2 separate regions of the Homo sapiens genome follow, and region 1 is linked to region 2. Evidence: promoter capture Hi-C in human tissues and cell types (Jung and others, 2019). All regions are on one chromosome and are shown on one strand. The core of a region is centred on a gene start or on the middle of the fragment in contact, and the rest is flanking DNA. Distances in the headings are between cores, read along the strand shown.

Region 1 (7,074 bases), core at 3,627-6,126, 340 kb after region 2:
ACCCAACTCAACCTCCCCATGGAGTTCTGGGCCAAGGAAACTTGGCAAGGCCCCTTTCAGGGACTGTAAAGTGCTAGCAAGCCAGGGTGAGATGAGAAGGGAGGGGAAGGGATGGGAGAGGCAGAGCTACAGGTGACAAAGGGCTTGGTGGGGAAGGTCTATCTGAAGAAGAGCATTCTTAGAATTCCCAGCAATTCTCAAGAGAAAGGAACAGGGAGAGAAGAGCCCTTTATTAGGAATTGTTCTTCATCTTTTTGGCCCTGGGACTCCATGAGAAAATGATGAAAGCAATACACTCTCCCTGAGGAGACAGCACATCCAAACTTTTATCACCCCATCTTAAAAGGCTTGTGAAGGCAGACAGGTAAAGTAGTTCTCCAAACCACTCATCCAGTAGAAGAAAATGCACTGGGCTAGAGTCAGGATCTGGTCTGGAATCCTGTCTCTGCTCTTCACCTGATGTATGCAACCTGAGGCAAATCACAACTTTTCTGGTGTGGTGGCTCACGCCTGTAATCCCAGCATTTTGGGAGGCCAAGGTGTGTGGATCACTTGAACTCGGGAGTTTGAGACCAGCCTGAGCAATATGGCAAAACCCCATCTCTACAAAAAATACAAAAAACTAGCCGAGTATGGTGGTACACACCTGTAGTCCCAGCGACTTAGGAGGCTGAGGCAGGAGGATCACCTGAGCCCAGGAGGTTGAAGCTGCAGTGAGCTGTAATTGCACCACTGCACTCCAGCTTGGGCAATAGAGTAAGACTCTGTCTCAAAAACAACAACGACAACAAAAAACCCACAACTTTTCTGTGCCTCAGTTTCCTCATCTGTAAAATGGGTATAATGATAATACCCCACAAGGTTATTATCTGTGAGAATGAGATAATAAATAATTATATGGGCATATACAATGATAAAAAAGTACCAAGTTATACCCTTAAGATCTTTGTACTTTATTTAGGCCAGGCGCAGTGGCTCATGCCTGTAATCCCAACACTTTGGGAGGCTGAGATAGGCAGATCACCTGAAGTCAGAAGTTCAATAACAGCCCGGCCAACATGGTGAAACCCCACGTCTACTAAAAATACAAAAATTAGCTGTGCGTGGTGGTGCACGCCTGGAATCCCAGCTACTGGGGAGGCCGAGGCAGGAGAATTGCTTAAACCTGAGAGGCACAGGCTGCAGTGAGCCGAGATCCGCCAGCCTGGGTCACAGAGCAGGACTCCATCTCAAAAAAAAAAAAAAAGATGTTTGTACTTTATTGAACTTGGGTTCTAATTTAATAAAAAGGAGAGAAAAACAAGATATTAAACATGAAAACATTTAGCATGTGACTATCACAAAGCTGACAACAAATATCATCCTTCACACATGCTACTTTGTCCAACAGGCACTTTTGGCTTCACCTGGTTCATAGAAAGATGTCACTTCTTCAGAGAAGCCTTCCCTGACCACCACTCCCACAAACAAGGTCAGTTCTCACAAATCAGCCTCCCACAAACCAGGTCAGATCCACGTTATACGCTCTATAGTTGTCCTTCAGCAGGTTTACTCCAGTTTATATTTATACATTTATTGGAGTAATTATTTCCTGTCTGTCTCCCCTACGAGATAATAAGCTCCTGGAGGGCAAAGACCATGGCTAGCAGCTAACCACTGTGTCCCCAGGTGTTTGGACACGTGGTAGATGTCAACAAATATTTGTTAAAGGCTGTATCCTGAACTAAAGCCCACTTGCACAGCAGTGGGGAGATTTGCCCAGGACAAATCTACTTTGCCTCAGTAACAGGACCTCTTAGCAACAGGACCTCCTCCTGGTCCAGACTTGCTGCCCTATGTAGTCATGATCTTAGAACCAGAAGTGCCTAGATTGCCAGCTCTCAGAAGCCATATGATTTATTCATGATGCAGTCTACCCTGTCAGTACATCTACTGATCTTCCAGATCCAGGTCAAGGAGTTCCCAGCCTAGGCCCAGCAGAGGGCACAGACCCTTGAGCAACAGCACTAAATTATTCAGAGGCAGTGTTGAACACTCCCCCAGGTCCCAGGTTAGGTTAACTCCCTAACCTCAATCACCTTCAGTCCAAGGACATGTGGATCAGGGGCCAGGAGGGCTGAAGGGATCTTTGGGGTGGGTCAGAAAGCAGGGCTCTAAATGATTCAACATGGAAAACCCGAAACCTACCCGCCTTTGGTTACAGAGGACAGTGGGGCGGGACCAAGGCAGCAGGGCAGCTCTGAGGCCTTGCGTAAGCCCCAGAGACAGGCAGGTAAACAGTGATCAAGGGCCAGGCAACATGGAGTCCAGGGCCTGCGCCCTCACCAATGCCTGACCCTACTTTTCTCTCCCCTATCACATGTCCAGGGCTCTCCTCACCAACTGTACTCCAGGAAGAGACCAGACCACAAGTTGATTCAGGTGCATCTGTCTGCTTCTGCCTTTCCTGCCTGCAAGGAGTGGGAGAACACTCTACACCTGTACCAGACAGCCACTTCTCCCTGAGTTACTCATTAGCCTGCCCTGCCCCAATTCCATCACCTCTGGCCCAGCCATATGCATCTGGTTTCCAACTAGGAGTGACAGGGTATCTGGACTTCTGGCAGGAAGTGGGGGTGGGGTGGTTTCGGGTGTGTGGAGGAAGGACTGATTCACATAGGGCCAGGCAATATGCTTGATGCTAAATAATTGGCAGATTTAGAAAACGGGAGAACTTGAGGTATAGAGATTAGAATCCCCTCAGAGGAAACAAGGAAAGCAAATGGTCGAAATAGAAAAGGACAGCTCAGTGACCTTGATGATTTGGCACCCTTTTTCTCATAGTTAGAGATAAGAAGGTTCCCCGTGGATCCAAAAAGAATCCCCCAAGTGGACTCCTGCCCAGGTCCGCTGAAAGAGCAGAAACCTGAGAGCCAGGCTACAGCTGCTTGGCCAGTAGGGAAAAAAACACAATGAGGAACTGGGCCCCTGCAAACTGGCTGGACTGGTTTGAGAGGCAAGGGGAAGGGGAGGGCCGGGGAAACTACACTGGCAGCTTGTAAAGCAGACCAGAGAAATTCCACACCACGGAGGAGGCAGAGGGGCAAGACCACAGGCAGGGGCTCTCCAGCCTTGATGGCAAAGCCAAAGCTCTGAAGGAGAGGACAGAGGGCAGGGAGGGAACAGGCAGGAGGAGCAGATGAACAGGAACCTGGTGACAGGCCAGTATGTGACAGGGAGACTTTGTCTCCCTCCACCCCTCCCTTTGAGGTTCCCAAAGTTGCATTCCTGATCCCACACTTGCTTTGGCCACCTCCCTGGTCCTCAGTCCGCCCCTCCCTGGCACAAAGAGAAGAGCCCTACACCCCCATCACCTCCCACAAGGGGAATGGCATGCAGGCCAGCCTGGGAAACACAGGAAGGGTTCTAGGAAGCCAGAATCCTCTTAGAGTCGGGCAAATCTCTGGATTAGCAGTCCCCCAGAGCCAGCCCCCAGACTCCCAAACATCCAGGATGAAAGAAGAGATGCATAGGCATGTGTAGGCAGCCCATCTACAAACATAGCGGTTGCTAATTATTTCCCAATTACAACAACCTTCCTCAGGCAGGGCTTCAAAGGGGCCAAGCTAAGGTTGACTCTAGTTCCTTTACCTGCCTAAGGCAAAGAAATTTGCCTCCAGTCTTGTCTGGGCCCCAAGGTGCACCTTTCATCTGTCCTGGGGATTTGGAGTTGTAATTTCCCTAGTCTCGTGGTCTCCTGATGAGTCCTGCCTATTTCCTGCCCCAATAGTGCCTGCTGCCATTCTGACAGCCACCGCAGTTCAGGAGTCAGGGATGCCTGGAGGGCGTTCAGGGAGTAATGGGGATTCCTCCAGACATCAAGGAAATTGGTTGGGCTCCCAAACCTCATCCAATGGTCCCCATCTAGAACCACAGAAAAAATATGTGGGTACTTGGAGAAAGGGTTTGACATCCGCCCCCAGAAAGGGGCCTCCTGAGAAATAAGTATTAATATTTATCAATATTTTGCAGGACCAGGCAGGGCTCTTTGCTTCCTCATATCCCTCTCTTGGGGAGTACTCTCTCTCTCTCTCAAGAGGAAGAAGGAACGATTCTCCCTGGCACGAAAGCAAAGGACACAAAGTGAAAGCCTAATGGTTGTACACCTGGTGAAGAGATGAGGGTGCCCTCTCATCTGCCCCTCAGTGTCTCTGATTCGCAACTGCCTTCGGCCGGAGGTGAAGGGCTGGGGAAAAAATCCCACACCTCAGAGTCATCTCAAAGCCACCAGGGTGCTGACAACGGCCAGCTGAGACCGCAGGACGCAGGAAAGACCCTCAGGCGAGCAGCACCTGCAGATGCCCTCCCCTGGCGAGTCTGCACCTCAGGCAGCAGCAGTTCCCGACTCAGCTGGAACTAACTCCTTCCCCGCGCCACCGCTGTCTCCAAGAGAAATTCTGCCCCTAGGGCTGGCGTCTGACCTCCAGAGACATCTGGCGCTGAAACGCTTTCATGCGCTGGGAACAGCCTTCGCCCCAGGTGCCCCTCGCCTGGCACCTTCCTAGCCACCTGCATCTGGCACCTCAGGGTAGGGGTCGGCTCTTAATCAGTACCCCACCCCGCCCCAATCTCCCCTCCTCCCGTCTCCCACTCGGCACCGGTGCCCTGGAGAGGGGCATCTCACACCGCCTCGATGCCTGCCCCTCAAAGGTACCCCTGAAGGCTCGCTTTCCTCTCGGGTGCCCTGGCCCGCACCGGGTCCACTCACCCTAGCCGGGCTCCGCGCTCCCAGGCTTGCGTTCGGGCTCGGGCTCGGGCTCGGGCTCGGGCTCGGGCTCGGGCTCGGGCAAAGCAGCACGCGCAGCTCCGGCCCTCCCCCTCGTCCTCGGAGCTCCCTCCTTTCTCTCCCTCCCACCAACCTGTTACTCCGCTGCGGAGCTCCACCCCCGCGGGCCGTCAGTGCCCGCCCCGCCTTTCCCCGCTCCGGTTGGTCCGCTTCCCGTAGGGGGCGGGGCCTCCGGTGCGGGGACCGGGACCCGGGGTCTCCAGCCGCGAAGGGCGGGCCAGGTCACGTGGACCCACGGGCTGCGGAGCGTCGGGGCGGGGCGGCGAGGGGCGCGGAGGCCATTTTGGGGGCGTCGCGGATGGTCGCGAGTGACCGCCGGCCAAGATCCCGGGAGCCGTCGGCCAGAGCATCTTCTGGGCTCTGCTAGAAAACAGCCTCCTGCCTCCCGTTTACTCCAAGGGAATCGCCGGCCAGGGCCCTTTCTGTCCTTCACCTACCTCTGCAGGAACCAGAATGCTCTTTCGTCACTTTCTGCAGAAAATATCTCCGTTGTCCCCCGACGTCAGAGCCTCCTGCACCTCAGCTCGTCTCCCTTTTCCCTGACCCGAACCAGAACCCTGATCTTGGATTCTCTTTTATCTTGTGGCCTCCGCAATCATTTTGCAGCCTGACATCTTTTTCTATGTAATATTTATCACCTTCTAGTTAATAACATAATTTTAAAAATCATTTTCATCATTTTGCCTCCCGTCCTACGATAAGCTTCACCAGAGCAAGGATCTCTTGTTCTGTGCCTTGCTTCACCCCAAACGCCTACAACAGGGACTGGTACATACTACATGCTTAATAAATATTTGTTGACTGAATGAATGGAAACCGGGGACGCAAATTTACCAAAATAGGAATGACCTTCGTTCTAAACTGAAAGGGACTCAGTTGTAAATTTACCTCAGAGTTAGCCTCTCAAAAAGTAGGGATGCTGATCCCAGTTCCTAGAAAAGAGTAAAAACTAGGGGCTCTGCAAACTGCAGGACCGCTCATACCAGCTGCAGTTAAAACAACATTAAAGCTGGCATCCTAGCTGTTAACCGTTGAGATATGTAAAAAAGAGATTGACTTCGTTTACGTTGCTGGGCTCCGGATTTTGTTCTCATTTAGTTACAACAAATATTTACCCTGTATCTATTGGAGTAGAAGAGGAATCTTCGATGCAGCACAGATTCCGGTGTATTCTCGGGAGCTGGTTTCCGCCCCTCCCCAAGCCTTCAAAAGCTAGGTGTGGGTCCTACAGAGTAAAGTCCACTTACCAGCTCCTCAGCTGGGATGCAAAGTCTCTGCATTCCAGAGCAAGCTGTATATAAGGATTAGGGCCATCAAACCGGCCTGTTCCCTGGGGAGGAACAGCAAAAAACATGTAGTGGGGGTGGGGACAGAAGAGGAAATGTCCTTCCAGGAGCGCACCTCCTGAACACTGGGTGGCTTTTAAAAGACTTTTTTTTAAAAAATTTTTTCTTATTTTTCTTTTATTGTGCAGCCTCCTGAACCAGAATAGGTTCAGAGACACTCCCATGGGATGGTTTTTGGTTTGGGTTTTTTTTGTTGTTTTTTTTTTTTAAGACGGAGTCTTGCTCTATCGCCCAGGCTAAAGTCCAGTGGCGCAATCTCGGCTCACTGCAACCTCCGCCTCCCAGATTCAATTGATTTCCGGCTAATATTTTGTATTTTTTAATAAAGACAGGGTTTCACCAGGCTGGTCTTGAACTCCTGTCCTTAAGTGATCTGCCCACCTTGGCCTCCCAAAGGGCTAGGATTACAGGCGTGAGCCACCACACCCAGCCTGTTTTGGGTTTTTTTGTTTTTGTTTTTGCTTTAGTTTTGTTTTTTTCATTGAGACGGAGTCTCACTCTGTCACCCGGGCTGGAGTGCAGTGGTGCAATCTCTGCTTACTGCAGCCTCAGCCTCCAAAGCTCAAGCGATCCTCCCACCTCAGCCTCCTGAGTGGCTGGAACTTCAGGCGCCCACCACCACACCGGGCTAATTTTGGCATTTTTAGTAGAGATGGGGTTTCCATGTTGTCCAGGCTGGTCTTGAACTCCTGAACTCAAGCGAACCGCCTGCCTCGACCTCTCAAAGTACTGGGACTACAGGAGTGAGCCACCACGCTCGCCCCCACCAAGTGTTTGTAAGGAGATTTTTTTTTTTAATGTGGGATATTAAATTGACTCAGATATTGGAAAGGCGGAAGCGCCTAAACTCCCCTAGATAACACCTTAGCAATTAGGATACTTAGTATATTTGTAGTAAATACC
Region 2 (6,536 bases), core at 553-3,052:
CCAGCTACTTGGGAGGCTGAGGCAGGAGAATTGCTTGAGCCTGGGAGGCAGAGGTTGCAGTGAGCCGAGATGGTGCCACTGCACTCCTGGGCAATAAGAGTGAGACTCTGACAAAATAACAACAACAAAAAAAAATGGTTCCCCCAGTCCTTGAGGAAGTTTAATTCAAACCTTTGCAGGAGGTGAGGGGAAATATTTATATTCTAGTCTTCTTCTAGGGCAACCAAATACAGAGGGTGAACCAAATCTTTTAAATTTCCGCATTAAATCAGTTTCATCTTTTGGAACCTGCCAAAATGTCATAATCATCACAACTATTATTATCGTCATCATCACTGTTATGATTCCACCTTTGCACAGTTCTGATTTTTTTTTTTTTAAGACAAGGTCTCACTCGGCCTCCCAAAATGCTGAGATTACAGCCTTGAGCCACTGCGCGAGGACTGATCTTTAGAACATGCTTTTATTTTAGTCAATTTAAAACTGAGACTTTTAATTGAAAATTGGCAGTTTAAATTCAATAGAAGACACACCACCACCAAATCCCACTGCCTTGCAGATGTTGGCTGAGTGTCCCTTCCCACTCAACAAAGCCTCACTGCCGCGCCCACCTCACTCCCAGCACTGCCTGCTGACATGAGCCACTCCCTGGGCACGGGGTTCCCAAAACATGAGAGTATCCCTGCCAAGCTGTTTCCTCCCAAATTATTTTCTGCCCTCCCTGTCAAGCCCTCCCCCACCTCCAACTCCTATCCCCAGCCAGAGACCAGCAGGTGAAACTCTCCTGTGCTAACCCTTGTCCGGGATATAAGAAGAGGTGTTGGCCGGGTGCGGTGGCTCACGCCTGTAATCCCAGCACTTTGGGAGGTCACCTGAGGTCAGGAGTTCAAGACCAGCCTGGCTAACATGGCAAAACCCCATCTCTACTAAAAAAAATATACAAAATTTAGCTGGGTGTGGTGGTGTGTGTCTGTAATCCCAGCTACTCAGGAGGCTGAGGCAGGAGAATCACTTGAACCCAGGAGGCGGAGGTTGCAGTGAGCCGAGATCACGCCATTGCACACCAGCCTGGGCGACAAGATTGAAACTCCGTCTCACCAAAAAAAAAAAAAAAAAAAAAAAAGAGGTGTCTAAGGCTGTGAGTTGGTTTTCTTTTTTTTTATTTTTTTATTTTTATTTTTTTGAGACGGAGTCTCGCTCAGTCGCCCAGGCTGGAGTGCGGTGGCTAGATCTCAGCTCACTGCAAGCTCCACCTCCCAGGTTCACGCCATTCTCCTGCCTCAGCCCCCTGCGTAGCTGGGACTACCGGCACCCGCCACCACGCCCGGCTAATTTTTTGTATTTTTTTTAGTAGAGACGGGGTTTCACCGTGTTAGCCAGGATGGTCTCGATCTCCTAACCTCGTAATCCGCCGCCTCGGCCTCCCAAAGTGCTGGGATTACAGGCGTGAGCCACCGCACCCGGCCTGTGAGTTGGTTTTCTGAGTCACAAAATCATACCAGAGTTTTCAGAGTCCGGTATACACTGCAGAGCACATACCAAGAACACTCCACCAGCACCCTCCAATCAAGGGACAGGCTTCCCTTATCCTTCTGGAAATATTCTTGGATTCTCCCTCAGAACCCCCAGGCAGCTCTCCAAGGCTCTATATACCCCATACTATTTGTTTATGTACTTGTTTACTCCTTTTGCAACTCAAGCCAGTCCTGCTGCCTTTTCATGCCCAAGCAGCATCTGTCCCTCCCCAAGCACTGGGTGGGGCTCCTAGACCAGCTAAAGGCGCCGAGCATCTGTGGGTGTTGCAGCACACCAGCCCAGCCTCGCCTAGCTCTCTGAAAGAAAGCCTGCAACAGAAGGGAGAGAAGCGGCCCCAAGTGCAGCTGAAAGCACTCCTTGGGAGTCAGCCAAGACCCTCCATCCAAGCAGGGCTGGATCCTTGCACTTGGCCATGATAAGGAGATGCTTCCAGGTGGCAGCAAGACTTGGCCACCACAGAGGCCTTCTTGAGGCCCCCCGTATCCTGCCCAGACTCAACCCTGCCTCAGCATTTGGATCCTCCACAGACTCCATGGTGAGTTCCCAGCTCAGCCAGATGGGCAGTGTTTTCCCAGGAGCCTAGGGCTTAAGGAGCACCCCAAATCTCCTCTTCCCAGCCCATGGCCAGGGCAGGTGGGCAGTGTTCGGAGGAGCTATTTGATTTGGCAAAGAGAAAGTGCTCTGGGATACCAAGTTGCCCCCATTCAAAACTAAAACTACCAGGAGACCTGCATCTGGCTCTGTGTCTTGTGTGGCCACCAACAAATGACTTTCCTCCTGTGGGACTCAGACTACTGCAGCAAAGCTGGGGTATCCCCAGACAGAGGACCCCATCTGTGGCATTGGCAAGCAGCTCACATGCTGTCTACAGTTGTGACTGGTGTATGAGCAGGTGACGCTACAGAGGACTTCCTTACGTCACACAGATGGGCACATAGTCTGTGCCCCAGCCATGGCACCACACCTCTGTGGGGGCCCAAATGTGTTTCAAAGGAGCCACCCTGCCCAGGCAGGCCCACAGCAGTGGGCAGAGCTGGAGTAGCCCCTGAGGTGGGGGTTGCTAGAATGGTCCTCAACAACTGTGACCCTGCCCTGCAGAGGAGACAGCATCTAGTGCGACCACCAGCTCTCACAGTCACATGCTTGGCAACCTTGGCCGTATTCCCTCAGTTTCCCCATCTGTACAGTGAGGCTAATATGAGCAGTTGTCAACTTTAAAGAACTGCTCACATGTTTTAAGCAGAACAAGGGTAAGGCACCACATCGAGCAGCATGCCCATCATCTCTGGCCCCACTCCCTGCCCGCCCTTCCCTTGCTCTTTAGCATCCTTATGCCCCGTCACCCATAGGGGTCCGCAGCCCCCCTGCAAGGAATATGGGCCCTTTCCCTTGGATCGATACTCTGGCAGAAGGGATTGAGAAGCCCCAGCACCCAGGAACAGCTGTTTAGAGGTCCCGAGCCCAGGCAGCAGCCCCCCTCCAGGATGCTGTCTAGTCATTCTGATTTTTCCTGCCCAGTTCTCAAGATTCTTGCCAGAGAAGACAGACTTGAAGGATTATGCTCTTCCCAATGCCAGCTGGTGTTCGGACATGCTGAGCCTGTACCAAGAATTTCTGGAGAAGACTAAGTCTAGCGGCTGGATCAAGCTGCCCTCCTTCAAGTCCAACAGAGACCACATCCGGGGACTCAAGCTCCCATCTGGACTGGCAGTTTCCTCAGGTAAGGACAGGACCATGAGTACACACACCCCAGCCGCCCTTCCCTGTGTTCTAAGACTGAGAAGCAACTTCACAGACCGCCTTCCAGTTCTCAGCGAGTTCTTCCTGCTGTCCAACTCCACCCCTGATGCTGCAGCCCCAGGCAACAGGCGGCGGGTGTCCTCTCAGGTCTCCAGCTCCCCTCCTCCCATCTGAAGCAGCACACCCTGGTGGGCCCACCTTCGCTCCCAGCCAAGCATGTCCCCACTGGAGGACAGCCAGCCCAGCTCCTGCCCCGACTTCTCACTGACTGCCCCTCCCTAACTATCAAGCCTCATCCCAAGCCTTCCGCCCCAACCCCATGAAAGCCCTTGGACCCCACACCCCTTCCACTGAGGCCCTGCACATCATCCCTGCTGTGCGGGGTCTGGAGCAGCACTCCTGAAACACCTAATGATCCTAATGGATCCTAATGATAGAGCTTCCACCTTCTTGTGTGTGTGTGTGCACTCGTGTGTGCACGCATGTGTATCTCCCTGTCTCTCTCACTCATATATGTTGTCTTCCTGCCTAGTGATGAAGGAGTGGTACAGGGGACAGACTACCCTTGGGTTTATGGCACAAACAAAGCAGGAATACCAACATAATTTTTTTTCAAAGAATTTGATACTTCCAAAAAAGGATGTAGTAGTGGTAGCTGTCTTGGAAAAAAAAAATCAGAACTTTGATGGACTTTTCTGCTCTTATTTTACTGTTTACTATTATTCTTTTGAATTATATGTGAGTTACATGAGTAATTACATTTTCAATTTTCAATGCTTATGGTCTCTTAAAGTCTTGCCCTGGCCCTGATCCTATCTCCATTCTCAGCCAGGGCACTTCCTGCATGTTTCTGCCCTAGACAGAAAGGCTCTGTGAGGACAGCAACTGTGCCTCTGCTCCCAGAGGGAAGGCTCCCTGGGGGTGGACCTGGTGTCCTCTGGTTTTCTCTCCTTAATCTTGTACCAGAGGCAAGACTCAACCAAATGGTGCTGCATCCTGACCATACCCTCCCTTCTCCGGCTGCAACACTGCCTATCTCTCCCCAGACAAAGGTGACTGTCGCATCTTCACCAGGTGCATCCAAGTGGAAGGACAAGGCTTTGAGTATGTCATCTTTTTCCAGCCAACCCAGAAGAAGTCGGTCTGTCTTTTCCAACCAGGCTCCTACCTGGAGGGGCCCCCAGGGTAAGGTCACTGGTAGGACCTTGGCTGCCTCCTGGGCTTGGCTCAGCAGGGCAGGTTCAGCACCCACCAGGCTGGCCCTGGAGTCTCTATCTTTCTCTAAGGGGTGAGGAAGGGAGTGTGGGGCACTAGGCTTCAGCCTCACAATACCAGGCCTGGAAGGACACACAGGGTTATCTGGCCTAATCCCCAGTGTGCAGATATGGGCTTCTCATCAAAGTCTCAAAATTTTCTGGACAAAAGACCTGAGAGGCCACTTTGAGAAGAATGTGGTACACTTGGAAGAGGGCAAGATCCGGAATCTAGACTCTGACTTGGTGTCCTGCCTGGCTGCTGCTGGCTGTGGGACTCTGAGCAAGCAATTGACCCCTGGTCTTTAGTCTTCTTACCTGAAACCTGGGGCAATAATATCTACCTGCCAGGGTGACCAGAGATATGATATTATGGGCCTATGTGTGCGTGCTCATGAACCGTAAAGCACAGTACAGCTATCAGACACTTCTACCCAAAACCCATGTTCTATCCATGGGGAAATGGAGATGCACACAGCTAAAGTAACTTGCCCGAGGCAGCACCAGCAATCAAAGTCAGATCCAGGACTCTAATCTGGGAGGTGAGATTCCAAGTCCACTGTTCTCTCCACTCTACTCTGCTGCCTCCAGACTTGGAACAGACCTCAGGAGGAATGCACACTGGGCATAAATGTGTCCACAAGGGAAATCAGGCTGACCGTGGGTCACCAAGTTCATGGTTGTCCCCCTTCTCTTCCATCCGGATGCCTGCTCCAGACAGTCACTGAAGGCTGGAGGTGGTGCTGGAGCTCCTGCAAGGGAGAGACAAGAGAGGGCAGGAGTGGCTTTAGGGTCCTGAAGCCTGAGAGGGGCTTAACTGGGGTTAAATAGAATCCAGAGTGCTAAATAGATGTCAGGGCCTCCAGAGGCTGTGGATGCCAACTGCAGCCCTCAGTCACCTTGGCCATCCCAAAGGAGTCCTCCACAGGGACACTGCTCCACACACTAGGCTGTGCAGATACTAGTGAATTGCTCAGAGCCCTGCCCAGGCCATGGACTCCCTCCTTTCTGAAGCATGGCTGACTTTTATTTAGGGGCTGATGGAAGTGAGGCCAAAGAGGCAGAGGAGGACCATCCAACACTAAGGCCAGTCAGTGGATTGAGGGGTTGGGGGTCTAGAGAAGAGATTAGTATCCACCAGGCCCCTAGACCATGGGGAGTGGGAAGGAGGAGTTACTCGTTGGCCAAGAGCTACTCTGTAGATCCACATACTGGCCAATGGGTCCCCAGGCTGGCCAGTGAGGACAAGGAGGAGAGAGTTGGTTTCGAGTTCTTTGACACCAACTCTTTTCACTCTCTTTCAAGCAATTTGGGAGGCAGACAGGGAAGTGCCTAAGAAGTGTGTAAATTATGTTTGCAAACATTTGTTTATTTAATCTGCTGAGATCAGAATTGTGAAATTCATGGTGGAAAAACTAAGGCTCAGAAAGGTTTAGCAATTTGCTCAAGATCAAACATGTAGTGAGCTGTGGGACAAGGAGTCCAACTGGGTGGATAGAGACTAAAGAAGCAGGGAGGGAAGGGTCTGGAAAAGCCACTGGTCACAGCAGCAGGAGGGTAACCCATGGCAGTACAGTGTGGACAGCTGATCTGGCTCTGTGGAGAATGGGCTGTGCTTTTGAAAATCAGGAACTCAAATCTGCTTGGTGTTATTTGAATTCTAAAATGGGTGCCTATTTTCCCAAATTAGCCAACCATGAAGTAGCTGACATAAAGCTTGCAAAAGCAAGAATGAACATTTTACGCTTTTTTTTTTTTTTTTAATTTTGAGACAGTCTTGATCTGTTGCCCAGGCTGGAATGCAGTGGCACAATCTCAGCTCACTGCAACCTCCACCCACCGGGTTCAATCGATTCTCATGTCTCAGCCTCTCGAGTAGCTGAGTTACAGGCGCTTGCCACCACACCCGTCTAATTTTTATATTTTTTAGTAGAGACGGAGTTTCACCATACTGGCCAAGCTGGTCTCGAACTCCTGACATCAAGTGATCTGCCCACCTCAGCCTCC

Evidence for each region. The method cuts DNA at HindIII sites, captures the fragments that hold promoters and counts their contacts. A contact is called where the count stands out against the background at its distance.
Region 1: the fragment with the promoter of CGN here is called in contact with the fragment with the promoter of THEM5 in region 2 in 1 of the 25 tissues and cell types used here (mesenchymal stem cells).

Annotation. Positions count from the first base shown.
Region 1 is chr1:151,509,189-151,516,262 of GRCh38, reverse strand. CGN (cingulin) reads right to left here and starts at 4,876. Exons shown (of 21, transcript NM_020770.3): 1 at 4,748-4,876. RefSeq lists enhancers at 2,341-2,916, 2,917-3,493, 4,356-4,495, 4,647-5,222, 5,223-5,799 and a silencer at 4,826-5,225. The HindIII fragment of the contact is 12,501 bases long and covers 1-7,074 here.
Region 2 is chr1:151,848,978-151,855,513 of GRCh38, reverse strand. It overlaps THEM5 (thioesterase superfamily member 5), which reads left to right and starts at 1,802. Exons shown (of 6, transcript NM_182578.4): 1 at 1,802-2,071; 2 at 3,055-3,256; 3 at 4,323-4,461. The coding sequence starts at 1,949. C2CD4D-AS1 (C2CD4D and THEM5 antisense RNA 1) reads right to left here. Exons shown (of 4, transcript NR_152846.1): 4 at 3,979-5,281. The HindIII fragment of the contact is 11,981 bases long and covers 1-6,536 here.